Regions from separate parts of the Homo sapiens genome. Here all the other regions are linked to region 1. The links are contacts of gene promoters, found by promoter capture Hi-C in blood cells and fetal thymus (Javierre and others, 2016). All regions are on one chromosome and are shown on one strand. Each heading gives the region's core, a stretch centred on a gene start or on the middle of the fragment in contact. The rest is flanking DNA. Distances are from core to core; before and after follow the strand shown. Region 1 holds the start of ADAM30 (ADAM metallopeptidase domain 30). Region 2 has its middle 19 kb from the start of REG4. Region 3 overlaps NOTCH2 (notch receptor 2). Region 4 has its middle 18 kb from the start of HMGCS2. Region 5 overlaps NOTCH2 (notch receptor 2).

Evidence for each region. The method cuts DNA at HindIII sites, captures the fragments that hold promoters and counts their contacts. A CHiCAGO score of 5 or more calls a contact.
Region 2: a fragment that was not itself captured here is called in contact with the fragment with the promoter of ADAM30 in region 1 in 3 of 17 cell types (M0 macrophages, M1 macrophages and M2 macrophages); the score reaches 6.8 in M0 macrophages.
Region 3: a fragment that was not itself captured here is called in contact with the fragment with the promoter of ADAM30 in region 1 in 8 of 17 cell types (erythroblasts, neutrophils, monocytes and 5 more); the score reaches 11.7 in erythroblasts.
Region 4: a contact is called between a fragment that was not itself captured here and the fragment with the promoter of ADAM30 in region 1, in 4 of 17 cell types (M0 macrophages, M2 macrophages, M1 macrophages and 1 more). The highest score is 11.8, in M0 macrophages.
Region 5: a contact is called between a fragment that was not itself captured here and the fragment with the promoter of ADAM30 in region 1, in 9 of 17 cell types (monocytes, M0 macrophages, erythroblasts and 6 more). The highest score is 12.9, in monocytes.

Annotation. Positions count from the first base shown.
Region 1 is chr1:119,894,996-119,897,852 of GRCh38, forward strand. It overlaps ADAM30 (ADAM metallopeptidase domain 30), which reads right to left and starts at 1,520. Exons shown (of 1, transcript NM_021794.4): 1 at 1-1,520. The coding sequence starts at 1,341. The HindIII fragment of the contact is 9,342 bases long and covers 1-2,857 here.
Region 2 is chr1:119,828,971-119,831,670 of GRCh38, forward strand. No RefSeq gene overlaps it. Among named protein-coding and RNA genes, the nearest start is that of REG4, 19 kb to the left of the region's middle. RefSeq lists a silencer at 2,302-2,502. The HindIII fragment of the contact is 506 bases long and covers 1,133-1,638 here.
Region 3 is chr1:119,963,153-119,965,967 of GRCh38, forward strand. NOTCH2 (notch receptor 2) reads right to left here. Exons shown (of 34, transcript NM_024408.4): 10 at 2,301-2,414; 11 at 422-655. Among named protein-coding and RNA genes, the nearest start is that of ADAM30, 68 kb to the left of the region's middle. The HindIII fragment of the contact is 8,628 bases long and covers 1-2,815 here.
Region 4 is chr1:119,785,366-119,788,239 of GRCh38, forward strand. No RefSeq gene overlaps it. Among named protein-coding and RNA genes, the nearest start is that of HMGCS2, 18 kb to the left of the region's middle. The HindIII fragment of the contact is 4,371 bases long and covers 1-2,874 here.
Region 5 is chr1:119,985,766-119,988,639 of GRCh38, forward strand. It overlaps NOTCH2 (notch receptor 2), which reads right to left. Exons shown (of 34, transcript NM_024408.4): 5 at 1,195-1,317. Among named protein-coding and RNA genes, the nearest start is that of NOTCH2, 82 kb to the right of the region's middle. The HindIII fragment of the contact is 1,117 bases long and covers 911-2,027 here.

The DNA of each region.
Region 1 (2,857 bases), core at 270-2,769:
ATCATGACAGCAAAGTCCAATGCTACAGTTGGCACCTGGTTGCAACTTACAATTTGATTGGCAACACCGATCTTTCTGACACTCCTCTGTGGAACCACAGTCACATTCCTCATTGTCCTCCACAATTTTGTTTCCACATCTCTTAAGCACATAACCTAGTCCTGGGATATTATTTAGACATGTTGCTCCCGAAGAGATATGTTTAAAAAAAGAGATATAACTGCAATTGCTAAACCCAGTGCGTCCTGAGCCCATGATGCAATTAAGCCTACCCCTACATTGGCAGTATTGTTCATCATGTGACATTCCTACAGCATGACCCAGCTCATGAGCAGACCAGGTAGCAGGGGCAAGGATATTTGTATCTAGTAAAGTACTCACTGATCCAGCATATTCTAGAGAACACACTTTTCCAAACGACCATGCAAGAGCATCATTATATTTTCTTTGAAGATATAAATGTGCCCAATCTGATGACAGGCGAGCATTTAATACACTTTTTTTATATATTACAAATCTGCCTAAAACTTCAGCTAACTCTGGATATCCAACGCGTATTTTGTTAAAATCTGTCCATACTTCAAGAGCCTTTAAGTGTATCCTCATACGAACATCTTGAAAGTAGGTGTCCATAATCCCAGTCAAAAGAATGGCATCATGTATGACTTGAGAAAGATTGTTGTTCACAAACCTATACCTACTTTGATCAAAGAGTAGGATCAATTCCAAGTACTTTGGGTGTTTATAGGATCCAGGAAAGTCCCTTAGCCTCGCCTTATTCTCATAAGGGGCCATCTGCCATTCTATTTCATCATCACTTAAGCCACAAACCTGATTCCCAAACTGCTCTTTCTTCAGGAGATAGACGACATGTTCAAAACTGGGAGAGGCCTTGAGGGGCTCAATTTGGTAATGTTTGGCATCAATGTTAAATACACCTCGGAGACCCCCCATGCATGTGCTTATAGTAGCTTTAGAGTCCAGAGACTCTTTCACGGAGCCCATGTAGTTGCAGTCCTTTGGTATGTAAGGATGATCCTCCAGCAGTTCCCCATGTTCTGTGAAGGAGAAAACGCGCAGATGTCGGGGCAACAGAAGTCTCTTGGGCCACAAATGGAGGACGTGCTTCTTGCCTTTTAACTGCAGTAGGTAGGACACGGGACTGACCACACCCTGCACCTCTCCCCGGAAGCTCAGCTTCTCAGGAATGGTGACTTCATACGAGTCAAACTCCCCTTCAGGGTGAAAAATTACATCTTCGCCAAGAGACTTAAGGAGCATTGTCGGAACTAGTAGAAGGAGCAAACGGCATTGGGAGAGGAAGATCTGCACTGACCTCATGGTCTGTTCCCTACTCAGCCTCAGTTTGCTATTCAGTCCCTGCAACTCTGGCCTCGCGAGTCAGATTTCTGGGGGCCGCCGCTAGAGGCGCCTGAGCTCAAAACCCGGCTCCCCTGGCAGGGTTTCCGGGGGAGCCCGTAGCCTCCCAGGGCTCGGTCTAGCTGGCGTCCGCAATGCGCGCGTGACCTGTCCAACGCATCCAGTTCGTTTTCCGGGCCGTACCGTTGGGCGCAGGTGGAAGAAAGGAGGGAAACGTGGGCGAGAATAAAAGAGAAAAGAGGGGCTGTTGGCACGTGGGTTGGAGAGAGGGTAGAGAACACCATCGGAAATGGAGAAGGAATAGAGAAATAGGAAGAACAAAGGAGAACGTGTTAAAGGCTCACTGTATCTTTGCCTTTACTCTGTGTCTTTACACCTTAGGACACAGGTTGGAATCCGATGTTTTATGGGCCACTGTCCTAACTTCATTGTTGGACATTTCCCAGTTTTCCACTAGGGTTGCTTGTGGCAAAAGAAAGGAGCATCAGAACCAGCAAGAGTGGAAACAGCCTGAAAGTATCAGCGTAGACTCCACACCCCCAGCCCCACTCTGGGCAGTTCCTCTGTCTTCGGCTGCGGCTTCTTTTTAGAGAAGGCCCTGAACCTTAGTTGTGGGCCCAGGCAACAGAAAGGTCCTGAGCTCATTTTGCCTGGGAGTGCTTTCTGCTGTTTGTCTTTGGGGTGCCAGGGGTCAGTGTAATTTTTGTGTGTCCATGTGCAATGGTGGGAAGAACCTAGAAAAAGTGCCTGTTATAAGAGCAAACCCAAGTGCTTTCTGAGAAAGGTAGATAGCTGGTTATGTTCCTAGTCGAGCGATGAGGCTGACTCCACAAAGGAAGAAGCCTCTGGCTCAGAAAATGGAAGGGTTTATCGTCCGTAAAAGGGCAAATCGGAAGGTCATGAGGTGATTCTGAGGGATTCTGATAAGAGAGGAATATTTTCAGTTTTGTTCCTGGGAGATTCCATCTGGCTGAATTACAAGGAAAGGTTAAAAAGGAACAGGCTTGAGTCAGGGAGACTAGTTAAAAGCTCTTGTACCAAGCAATGTTGTCTGTTGGCAGAAAGCATGGCCTTAGGGCTGATAATAAGCAGTACTTATGGAAGACTGGCTCGTTTCATGCTACACACCCCGCTATGCTCTGCATAAATCAGCCCATTAAATCTTCACCATGACCCTAGGTTATAGGTACTACTATTATCACCCATACTTTGCACATGAGGACATGAAAACCGTACCATGGTTCAGAAGGTGGCGTCAGCTGAAGCAATCCCTGTGAACATTTAGGCAACTCTACCCGGAGCCTGTGTTCTTTACTAGTCAACTCTGTTGTCTCTTTAGGGAAGGACAAAAGTTGACAGCTCCAAGAGATTTAAAACCACTTAGACTCTGCTGGACTTAATGCTTGCATGGATTCTCCCAGAATGAAAGAGGCAAAAATGAAAAAGAATGTTGATGTTTCTGGCTTAGGTGTATGTG
Region 2 (2,700 bases), core at 136-2,635, 66 kb before region 1:
AGAGCTTTCTGAAAGATGCTACCAGTAGTTTTTCCAGGGCAGAGATGGGTTCTTTATTTTTCTGTCTAATCTAGCCCATATGCTTAGCTGAGAAGTTTTCTTCATATCACTTTAAATGATGATGTCCCTTGGTTTTCTAAACATTCTTTAGATAAGAATTTTATGAGCATTCTTTATTGCATTAGGATTAAAATTAATGAATCTTAAGGTTTTATTGCAAAGTCTTGCCTTGTTTCCTTTCTAAGATGATACAATTTATAACATGCAAGTTTGCTGACTGTCTCCTCCCTTTGTGTACATATAAAATGAGCAAACATGTGGCCATGAAACAGATGGTCATAGAATTGGTTCAGTGGTTGTGAGTGCAGCAACCCAAGAGTGTCTTATCTGAAATACCACCAGGAATGCCTGGACACAGTAGACAAAGGTTGTTCAACTGGACGCCTTAGGATACATGCTTCCAAAAACAAAGTAGCTGAAAAGAAACTAGAATAACAGGATATCAGAGCCAGAGGAGCATTTGGAGGTAAGTCAGTACCTCCTCCTTTTTGTCCTACAGGGGAGATAGTGGAACAGAAGCAGGGATGGGCCTGCCTTCTGTGCCCACAATTCACTGGGGATTGTTGTGGTGAAGAATTTCATTTATAATGAAGGAGAAATAAACCCCCATCACCTTAAATTCAGGCAGGTTTATTGAAAAGGTGAAGAGGCCTCTTGCAGAAGCAAAGCATAGCTGAGGCTTGCGGACTCTGGGAAAACGAGCAGCCGACAGTGACTAATGCTGCCTCTGACTCTGGGGCCGTGTGTTGTCTTGCTCCCTGTGAGCATCTCTTCTATTCTTTTGCATCTTCCCTCAGCCTAGCAGTCTCTGTTTACTCTTCAACACATAATTGAGCAAGGCTGTGCCAGCCCCAATGCCACCTGGCACTTTAGATCAAATTAAAAATGCATGAAATGAACTGGCCCTTTATAATACAGCTGTTGGAACAACAGCTGGAAATACAATATGTTGACTCCTGGTTTAGTGCTTTATGCTAAACTTCCTTTTCTGAAAAGAGCACAGACTTTGGGATATTAGAATACATTACGTTTCTGGGTTATTTGGAGTTTATGGTTTTCATGAAGCTTTGAAAGCTTTCATCCAGTATGTTTTAAATATTTTTCTATCGCCCTTATCCACTCCATTCCCTTCAGGGATTCCATTTAGTAGAGTGTTTAAAATTTTCCCACTGATGGGCTTTTTATTTCTTAAATTCATTTTTTCCTGTGTGTTTCATTTGTGTTCATTGCTATTGCTGTTTCCTTTAATTCATTAATCTTTTCCTCTGCAATGTTCAATCCAGTGCATTTTTTAAAATTTCAGACAGTAAAATGTAGTTTTCACTTATGGAATTTGATATTTTAAAAATATCTCCCACATCTTCATTTAATTAAAATTATAATAACTGCTCTAATGTTATTGCCTGCTATTTCTAACATGTGTGTCGTTTTCAACTGAATTATTTCATTCTTCATTATGTCTCCTGTTTTCCTGCCACTTTGCCTGTTTGATATACTGGGATTTGATGTCACACATTTGATGTCAATGCCCAAATGTGCCCAGTGGCACAACTCGGCCTCAGTGTCTATGCACACCCAAGCTTTTGCAGCAGGAGAGGCAGAGCAGAGGCAAATGTGCCACACATGGGGGTAGGGAGTCCCCCACTTGTGCTTGGGGCTTTCCTCTGCCTCATTGAAAAAATATGTGTTCCTTTTCTTTTCCATAAGACCTGCACTACTTCAGGCCCTGTTCCTCCAATGATCAGGACAGTCCTCTCTCTAGTCTCATCCCTCCAAAGGATGGACAATGGTTCAAAACAATTCAGGAGAGAAAGCATAGTCTTGTCAACAAATTGTGTTGCGAAAACTAGACATCCATAGGCAAAAATAGAAAAAAATTCACAGATGCTGGCGAGGTTGTGGAGAAAAAAGAATGCTTTTACACTGTTGGTGGGAGTGTAACTGTCAACCATTGTGGAAGACAGTGTAGTGATTCCTTTAAGACCTAGAGGCAGAAATACCATTTGACCCAGCAATCCCATTACTGGGTATATATCCAAAGGAATATAAATTATGCTGTTATAAAGATATATGCATGCATATGTTCACTGCGGCAAAGATATGGAATCAACCTAAATGCCCATTAATGATAGATTAGATAAAGAAAATGTGGAATATATACACATGGAATACTATGCAGCCATAAAAAGGAATAAGATCATGTCCTTTGCAGGGACATGGAGGGAGTTGGAAGCCATTATCCTCAGCAAACTAACACAGGAACAGAAAACAAAACCCTGCATATTCTCGCTTGTAAGTGGGAGCTGAATGATAAGAACACAAGGACAGATAGGGTTGGGGTGGAGACAACACACACTTGGCCCTGTCGGAGGGTGGGAAGTGGGAGGAGGGAGAGCATCAGGAAGAGTAACTAATGGATGCTGGGCTTGATACCTAGGTGATGAGATGATCTGTGCAGCAAACCACCATGGCACACATTTACCTATGTGGCAAACCTGCACATCCAGCACATGTACCCCTGAACTTAAAATAAAAGTGGAAGTAAAAAACAATAAACAAAGAAAAAAATCCACTTAAACATCCATACTTGCACTAAAACTAACTCAAAATTGATTATAGAACTAAATGTAAATTGAAACT
Region 3 (2,815 bases), core at 141-2,640, 68 kb after region 1:
AGGGAAGAAGGGAAGAAGGAAGGTAGGTAGGAAGGAAGGAAGGAAGGAAGGAAGGAAGGACTGAATTTATTAATCTGGGTGGGGTGGAACTTAAAGAAAAAAAGATAATATAGCCACAAAAAAGAGGGTTTTCAATTTTAAATCATTAATTTTAATTTTTGAAGTGGTATGCCTCTATTTAACAAAACACACACAAACACACACACAAAATCATCAGATTGGCAGAGCTATTGTCTCTGACTTCTCCACTGGCTAGGGCCATTTGCCTTGAGACATTTATGTTTGTGGCTTTGGCTGTGCTTCTCAGAATCAGGACTGTTTTTTAGGTATCTGAGCATATGCCAACAGTCTGAAACATCTGTGTAAACAGATTTGAGAAACAGTGAAAACCCCATACCAAACATAAACAGAGTGGGCTTACCTGACGTGCCTGGCTGGCAGTTGCACTGGTAGCCATTGACCAGGTCAATGCAGCGACCATCGTTCAGGCAAGGGCTGCTGTAACATTCATCAATCTGGTCACTGCAGATGGCGCCCATGTACCCGGGATTGCAGATGCAGGTGTAGGAATCAATACCATCCTGACACTGACCATGGTGGCAAGGATCGGGGTCACAGTTGTCAATGTTCTCCTCACACAACACACCAGTGAAACCTTTGGAAAGAATTTTATCAAGGATTCTCAAAGACCAAGGCAGATATTCCACACCAGAACACAAGTGTAGCTACATCCATTTACTCTACACATTCGATGTGTGGTCAATTAATACTGCAGGTCTTGAGCAGTAGAAAACGACGATCTGCATTGATTTAGAAAGTATGCCTGGAGAGAGGTGCTTAAAATAAAGATTTCCAAATCAAATTTTAGAATTGAAATACCTTCGCAACTGATCAATAATTTCATTGCAGAGATGCTTTAACTGCACCTTCATTTCTTACTAGGCTTCAGGTATAACAGCTCAAAATATTTTTCCTTTATATATTTATCTTTGTATTTCTTTCTTCCCAAGTCCAATATACAGGTTAATGATTTCATGTATCTTATGTCCCCAATTCTGACTTTGGAGGTAAGAGAGCTTTATTTTACTTCTCTCAACTCCTCTGAGAGTAGTATGCATATATAGTAGTTTTAAATAAATACTGGTTGAATAAAATGAATGAACCTGTTATGAGAATTTAAAAGAAAAAGAGACAAGTAAGATTTCCTTTCTTCGAGGTGTAAATAGACAAACATTATATCTTTCCCTAAAAGACTCCAGGAGTCCTCCCCCCACTTTTAAACCTGAGCTAAAGGTTTTTAATCTCTTTGAAACTTATCCTCTACAAGAAGAATCTGGCCAGGGGAAGACAAAATCTGGATTCTCTGACAAGCATTAACTATTTGCAAAAAGAAAGAAAGTGGCTCATCTGAGTTGTCCTAAACTAAGTAGGTCTAATAATTAAAATATTAACTTTTTGTATTAATTTTCACAATTAAATTTGCTTTTCTGTGATCAGAAATAAATTATATGCATGATGCCTTTAATCTTTAAGACTCCATTCTCTAAAATTAATGTCTTGAATTACATAAATAACTTCTTTCTCAAGCAGTCAGATAATAAAGAAGTTCACTTCTAATAATTTCTAGCCTTTCTGTATAATATTTGCCTGTGTAAAAGGAAATGTGTAATAGGGAACATCTGGCTTACTGAAATCCAATCCCAAGTACAAAATGTGATTACAAACCCAGAAATGCAGAATATTTGTGCACAGATCGTTTTTGACTCTAGTTGCAGAAGTCAGCAAAGAGGACCCAAACTTTCCCAGTGAGAGCTCTCTCTCCTGTCATTTACACACTTGACTCTCAATCCTATTTTGGTGTCTTTTATGCAGAATACCCCTGCACTTGTACACATTCAGCCTTTAAATTTCTGGGCCTTCTTTCAGTCACTTGCTTCAAGAAACACAGAGCCAGGCCTCCTGCTGAGAAGCCCCAGTGAAAAATAGCTTTCAACTGGATTTCTTCTCTTTCCTAAATGAGTCAATCTAGCCAGCTGGAAACTTACTGCTGCCAAAATCTGTCCCAGAAAGACATGGATACCAAATGGAAATATCTGGGCCAGACCACTGTTGTGGTGGAGGAGGCAGGTGCTGCAGAAAAAGAGAGCAGCAAAAAATTTGTTAGAAACAGCTCTTCCTAAACACAGAGGAGCCTCTGGGAGTGGACTGGCCTGGCACAGCAGCTAGCAGAGGACAGGGACAATCACCCTATTTTGTTCAGATGGACCTACCAAGGAGATGAAAAGTGAGAAGAATCTTACCTGTGGCACACTGGCATTCATAGCCATTCGGGTGATCGATACACTTTGCCCCATTCAGACACGGAGTACTGGAACAGTCATCAATATCAATCTGGCAAACTGGCCCAGTGAAACCTCAAAAAGGGACAGTGGTAACATGAGTCAAAGGATTATCTTGTGTCTCCCTTTACCATGAGAATGATGTTAGGTTACTAGCAGGGCTTATACCAATGGGTCAATAAGCCTATGCTTTATTATTCTCCCCAACAGGTAACTGGAATAACCAGGTGACACTCAGGGAATCAGAGGCACTTGTGGTGTGTCTCTACCATTGCTTCTTCACAGACAGACTTCACTTCTAAATGAAGGATGTAGGAAGTGAAATTTATAGGTGGAACCTCAAACAAGTAACTGTAGCTTCAGAGGCAACAGAAACCTTCTCTCTGAAGATACAATGGGGTAAGATGCAATCTATGGAGGACAATTTGGCATATCTTCAAAAATAGCTTGAGGAAAAAAAAGGAGAGACAGAGAAT
Region 4 (2,874 bases), core at 175-2,674, 110 kb before region 1:
CTGCTCTCTCTAGTGCTGGACTACTGCTGCTGTCACTCTTGATTCTGATTATCGGAGTCTGGTCAGGTACATTCACTTGATGGCTTTGTTCACTGACACAGGAGGGAGACATCTTGTCAAGGTGTTTCCATGCTTGGGATCTAAGCCCATCGCCCCTTCAGGTCCCCCTCTCACGCTCAGCCAGTATTCCCTGAAGCCCAGCCATTGGGCTGGGAGAGCTTGTTCCCAGTAGTTTGCAGAATCAGCCATGGGCTGAGCTGACGGCACCATACCCTCCCATTCTACAGAGCGCAGAGTGCTTCTCCTGCTCTGGAGCTGCTTAGGCAGATGATCCATCTCTCCCTGTGACAACTTTGTTTACTGTGACTCTCAGGAAATTTTAATCAAGCCTCAAAACTTTCTGTTAAATCCTTATCCCGGGACAATGACTGCCTGGGACAATACCTAGTTGCCATTGATTGACAGCAGCCATTCAAATGTGTTATTTCTTGAAAGGGCAGACTCACTACATGGGTCTAGGGACACATGTCACTGTGCTCCTAATTTAATACCTGTGTTGACACACAATTTCATGTCATCTGTTCCACAATCATAAAAAAGTCATTCCCCCCATGCCCCCACCCTCCATTTTTTAGGTGGGAAAACAGCCTCAAAGAGGTTAGTGAGCTGTTTAAAGTCACAGAGCTATTAGTTGCCAGGCCTGGGATTGTAACCCGAGTGCATATGACAACAAAAATCCATGCTTTTTCCTTGTCCTCTGACATAAAGAAAGAGAATATAAAGACTTGCCTCATGAACCTAAACACCTGAAACTGGAGCCTGTGCACCCCTTGTGCTCTGTAGAAATATGTTGGGTATTGCGGGATCTGGCCAGCAGCCCGCAATGCAACGGGGCTTTCTCTTTGTTCCCAGGCAGATCGGCAGGTTGAGAAATAATAGACACACACAAGATAGTGAAAGCTGGGTCCAGGGGGGTCACCGCCTTCTGGTCCTGTGGTGCCAACAATACACTGGATATACCAGCATTTATTATTAAGTTTAGTGAGGGCGGGGGTAGGTTAGTGAGGGATTTAGGGTTATTTGATTATGAGGTGAGATGGTCACATGGGGATGAAGTAATTCTTTAACATAACATTTGTATGTAGAAGTACAGTACATTTGTATGCAGAAGTACAGTATACAGAGATAAGAATTTACAACATAGTGTGTGCATCAGTAATTTCTAACAGAGCCTTAAAACAGAAACACAGTCTTTCCATAACCTATGATTAGCAAGATATTAGTCAGCAGTAACAATTGCCACAAAAGCTGGTTACAAACAACCCATGGAAACAGGATGTGAAGCTAGACAACTGGTTAGACCAGAAATTCTCAGAAGGGAGTATGCCTTAACCCTAAAGAGGCCTAGAAGAGCCATGGCAAGATGAGGGCGTTTATAGCCCTGTCTTATCCATATGGACAGCTGCCTCCCATGCGTTCGTTTATAGGCTCTCCACAAGGGTTGCATTCCATTCCCAGAGCTATGAACATCTGCTTTCCTGGGATAGGAATCTTGGTGATGTGAAACTTTCCTGACTGCACGTCCATTCATAGGCTCTCTGCAGGGGGAAGCACATCAGGGGTCTCCCTACAGTTGGGCAGTTTGCTTTGCTACTGGTTCTCTGGAAAAATATTTATTTTTTTAAAAAAATTTTGTGAGTATATAGTTAGGTGTATATATTTACGGGGTATGTGAGATATTTTGGTACAGGCATACAATGCATAATAATTACATCATGCAAAATTGGATATCTACCCCCCTCAAGCATTTATCCTTTGTGTTACAAACAATCCAATTACATTATTTTAGTTATTTTTAAATGTGCAATTAAATCATAATCAACTGTAGTCCCCCTGTTATGCTATCAAATACTAGGTATTATTTATTCTTTCTAACTGAAAAAAAATCTTAAAATGTATTTTCTTTCTTTTCTTTTTTTCTTTTTTTTTTTTAGAGACTACAGACAAGGTCTTACCTGTCACCCAAGCTGGTGCAGCATTGTGATCATAGCTCACTGCAGCCTCCAGCTCCTGGGCTCTAGTGAGCGTCCCACCTGAGCCTCCCAAAATGCTGGGATTGCATGTGCACACCACCACGCCCAGCCTGTATTTTTTTTAAATCACTTTGTTGAGGTATTATTGATATTAAAAAGCTGTAGATATTTAATGCATACAACTTAATGTGTTTGGAGAAAAGTGTACACCTGTGAAACCATTATCACATCAACTCAATAAACTTAGCCTTCACCTCCAAAAGTTTCCACCTGCCCCCTTTGTTTTATTGAAAGTTTATTTTCATTTGGATAATAATGTGTATTTAAAAACAGAGTTTTCTAGATAACGTGCTTGATTACTTTCTGAGAAATGCATTGGGATTTTCATGCTGCATTTTGCATTTATGTTAAAGTTCATTGACATCGAGTTGTACAGTAACTGAGATAATGGGAGAGAACATAAGCTGACTTCCTCTGGAACAGGGTGTGGAGTAGAGGCCAAGTGTTGCAGGGCTCTCAAAGAACAAAGGCCTTGCACCACTTCATCTTTAAATAAAGAAAAGTAAAGTAATATTTCAGCCACAAACTGACTGTCAAACCCCAAAAGAACCTGAACCACAGCAAGGCATTCCAGACTTGTTTCGTAAGCCAAGTTTAGTTGCAACAAACCCACATTCTCCATGAAATCAAACTTATCTGAGTTTGAAGTTTATTAGATATGTAGTTTATTTCTATTTAGTATGTCATTTTCTTGGTTTTATAAGAGCTACAAGCATAACGGACATATGCTTACTTTAAGGTTTGTATGAATTTAACATAAGAAGATAGTTCTCTTATACAC
Region 5 (2,874 bases), core at 219-2,718, 91 kb after region 1:
AAAGTCTATCATAGAAAAATGGCAAAAACTAGAAGAGACAATGTCACAAAAAGTACAGAGGGTTAGAAGTGAAGTTCTAGGATCAAGACACCATGAAGAAATTCTAGGAGAAGTCCCAATTCTAGGAAAACCTGGTGGGAAAGTATTAAAAGGGACAGTTTGGGAATTAAAAGCAGAAATGTTTGGCCTCCCCAGTAAGTCCTGTGATTGAGTTTTTAAATGCTTTTCATCTTTTTCTATTCATAGTCTACAGCTCTAAAGAGTATTGTAAATAATTAGATGCTACAGATAAGGAAAAGTAATTCAGAGACACTAAAGAATACCAGGTAGTAATGGCTGCACTTCAACATTAAGATTCTTTGTAGGAGATAGCCCACTACTGGTACTGTAATTTTTTCTTATAATACTAACTTCCTGTTGGGTTTCCACATTAAATTAATTTCTCTCAAAAAGGCCCAGCTCTTAGTCCCTTAATCAGTTCTTAATTGTCTCTACTTTCAGTAGATAAACAGACATAAAGAGAAATTAGAACCAAATGTCTGCGTAAATCACTCAACCTGCCTAAGACTACATGAGAAACTTCCAAGAGGCTGTAAAATTAAGCAAGACTACCCTTCTAATGTTAGAGGCAGAAAAAACTATTTTTGTTCGTGTACAAAAAGGGATAGAAGAAAAAAACAAATGTAGGATGCGTATCATAAAAATAATGTCATTAAGAGTACCTGCCTAACACTTTGCCTAGTTATAGAACATGACATTAAGATGGGACAGATCTCTGTCCGTGAACAAATAGGCTCTGAACTCTGGTAGCCTGTACAATTTATTTTAGCATTTCAGGAAATTTTTCCTCTTTAATATTTATTAAGCATCTACTATGTTCCAGGTAATGTCCTGCTTTTCCCAGATAATAAGCTTACAGTAGTGCTCTTCTCTCATATCTGCCACAGCATCTAGCATGGTGCTGGGTTCAGAGTTGCTGCCCAATAATACCTGTGAAAATATGTCTTTGAGTGAACATAGGAAAATGTATGAGGTTAGTACAATAAGCAATGATCTAGCATGGAGATCCTGCTCAGTTCACATACTGGTTCCAGAGCAGGCCTAAGATATTTGTTACTGATATTTTAAAAAAACAGTCTGCCTCTGGTTACCAATCCATATCCCATTCTGGTGGATTCTCCACACTGTACATACCTGTCCATTGTGGGGGACAGCGGCAGTTGTAAGTGTTGACCCCATCCACACAAACCCCTCCATTCTGACACCTGTGGTTAGGGCAGTCATCAATATTCCTCTCACAGGTGCTCCCTTCAAAACCTGGTAAATGAAGAACAAATGAAAATGATGAAATCTCATACAGAAGAAACGACCTGCTCTGTTCCCACAGAACATGGTTATTAGAATAGACCCGCTTCATGACTTCAGTTCAACAGCTGCTCACCCAGGACTCACCATATGAAAAATCCCCAATTCTCTGTCTTCTCTGGCCTCAAGCATAGCTAGACAGTGAAAGTGACTCATTGTGCCAATGGCATGCCTTCATAGTTACCTCACAAGTATTTCAAAATGTTTTCATGAAATAAAATCCCAGGGATGATAAATGTCTACTTGGGACAGAGATATTCAAGGGTTCTAAAAAAACAGGGTATTGGATTTTCCCCAGCTCCATACCAGACTAATGGGAAGAACAGATAAAATATTACCTAATTAAATTTAAGTTCCTTTTATTTTTTTTCTTTGAATGATTGCTAGGCGGCCTCCAAGCCAGGTGGGGAAGGGAGTGGGGGAGGATATAGGAAAAATATTGAACTTAAAGTATGAAGATATGGATCAAGTCCCAATCTCACCACCTGCAAGCTATTCGTACATGGTAAGCTAAAGTTCTGCATCAACTTCCTCACCTGTAAAAAATGAGGCTAATTCCACTTGCCTATCCTGTCTTTCTAATTATAAGTGCCACATCATGAGTAAAGTGCTATACAAATGTTAAAAGGTATCTGAAAATTGGGTGGCATTATTACTAACTAAGCTTACCAGCACTTCAAATTCATCAGGCTCTTCTCTAAACTTACAGCATTGCTTCCTTCCTCTTGACTTTTTCTTTTATGAAAAATGAAACTAGTACACCAAACTTCACTCTAACTGCCCACAGTGTGGTCCTTTGTAGTTTATATGTTGGGCCTCTTACTTTCTCTTTCCTTGCTACCAAACTCCTGAGCTAATTAAATAGAAGACTACCAGCTTCTATTCTAAACATTCTCCTATTTGAAATATAGTATGATTACATATTTGGCTTCCTCGAAATATCCCTTAAGGTTCCTCTCTCTCACTCAAAATACTTACTGGGACTTACATTAGGCACTGGTGATACAGCAGTGAGTCCCTGCTTTTGTGGCATTTACAGCCTTGTGAGTGGGACACACATCAATCACACTTTGCTTTATTCCTTACCATAAGTTACTGTGGCATTCTACATCTGCTCTGCTACACTGGAACATGGCTGATTTCTCTAAATACAATGGCAGTCATATAAATAAGTATAAACTGAGTGACCAAAAACATTAGCCAAAAATCACTCCATGGAAGACAGAAATCACTGAAGGCTTTATTGAAGGAAATTATATTTCTCCAAGTATTTGGTACTCAGTCCATTCAAGCAGATGAATCACTGAAGAAGCCTGAAAAAGACTATGAAAATTTACTCAAATTTCAAAAATGTATCATATTACTCATATTTCATATTATTCATACAGAAATATGAGTCTTACAAATAGACCAATGAGCCAGAAAATGATGAGCCATTGAAGCCCACCCCTACAGAATCTATGGGATCTACTAGGTCCTTGAGTAAGAACTAGGGTCTTTGCCCCTAGT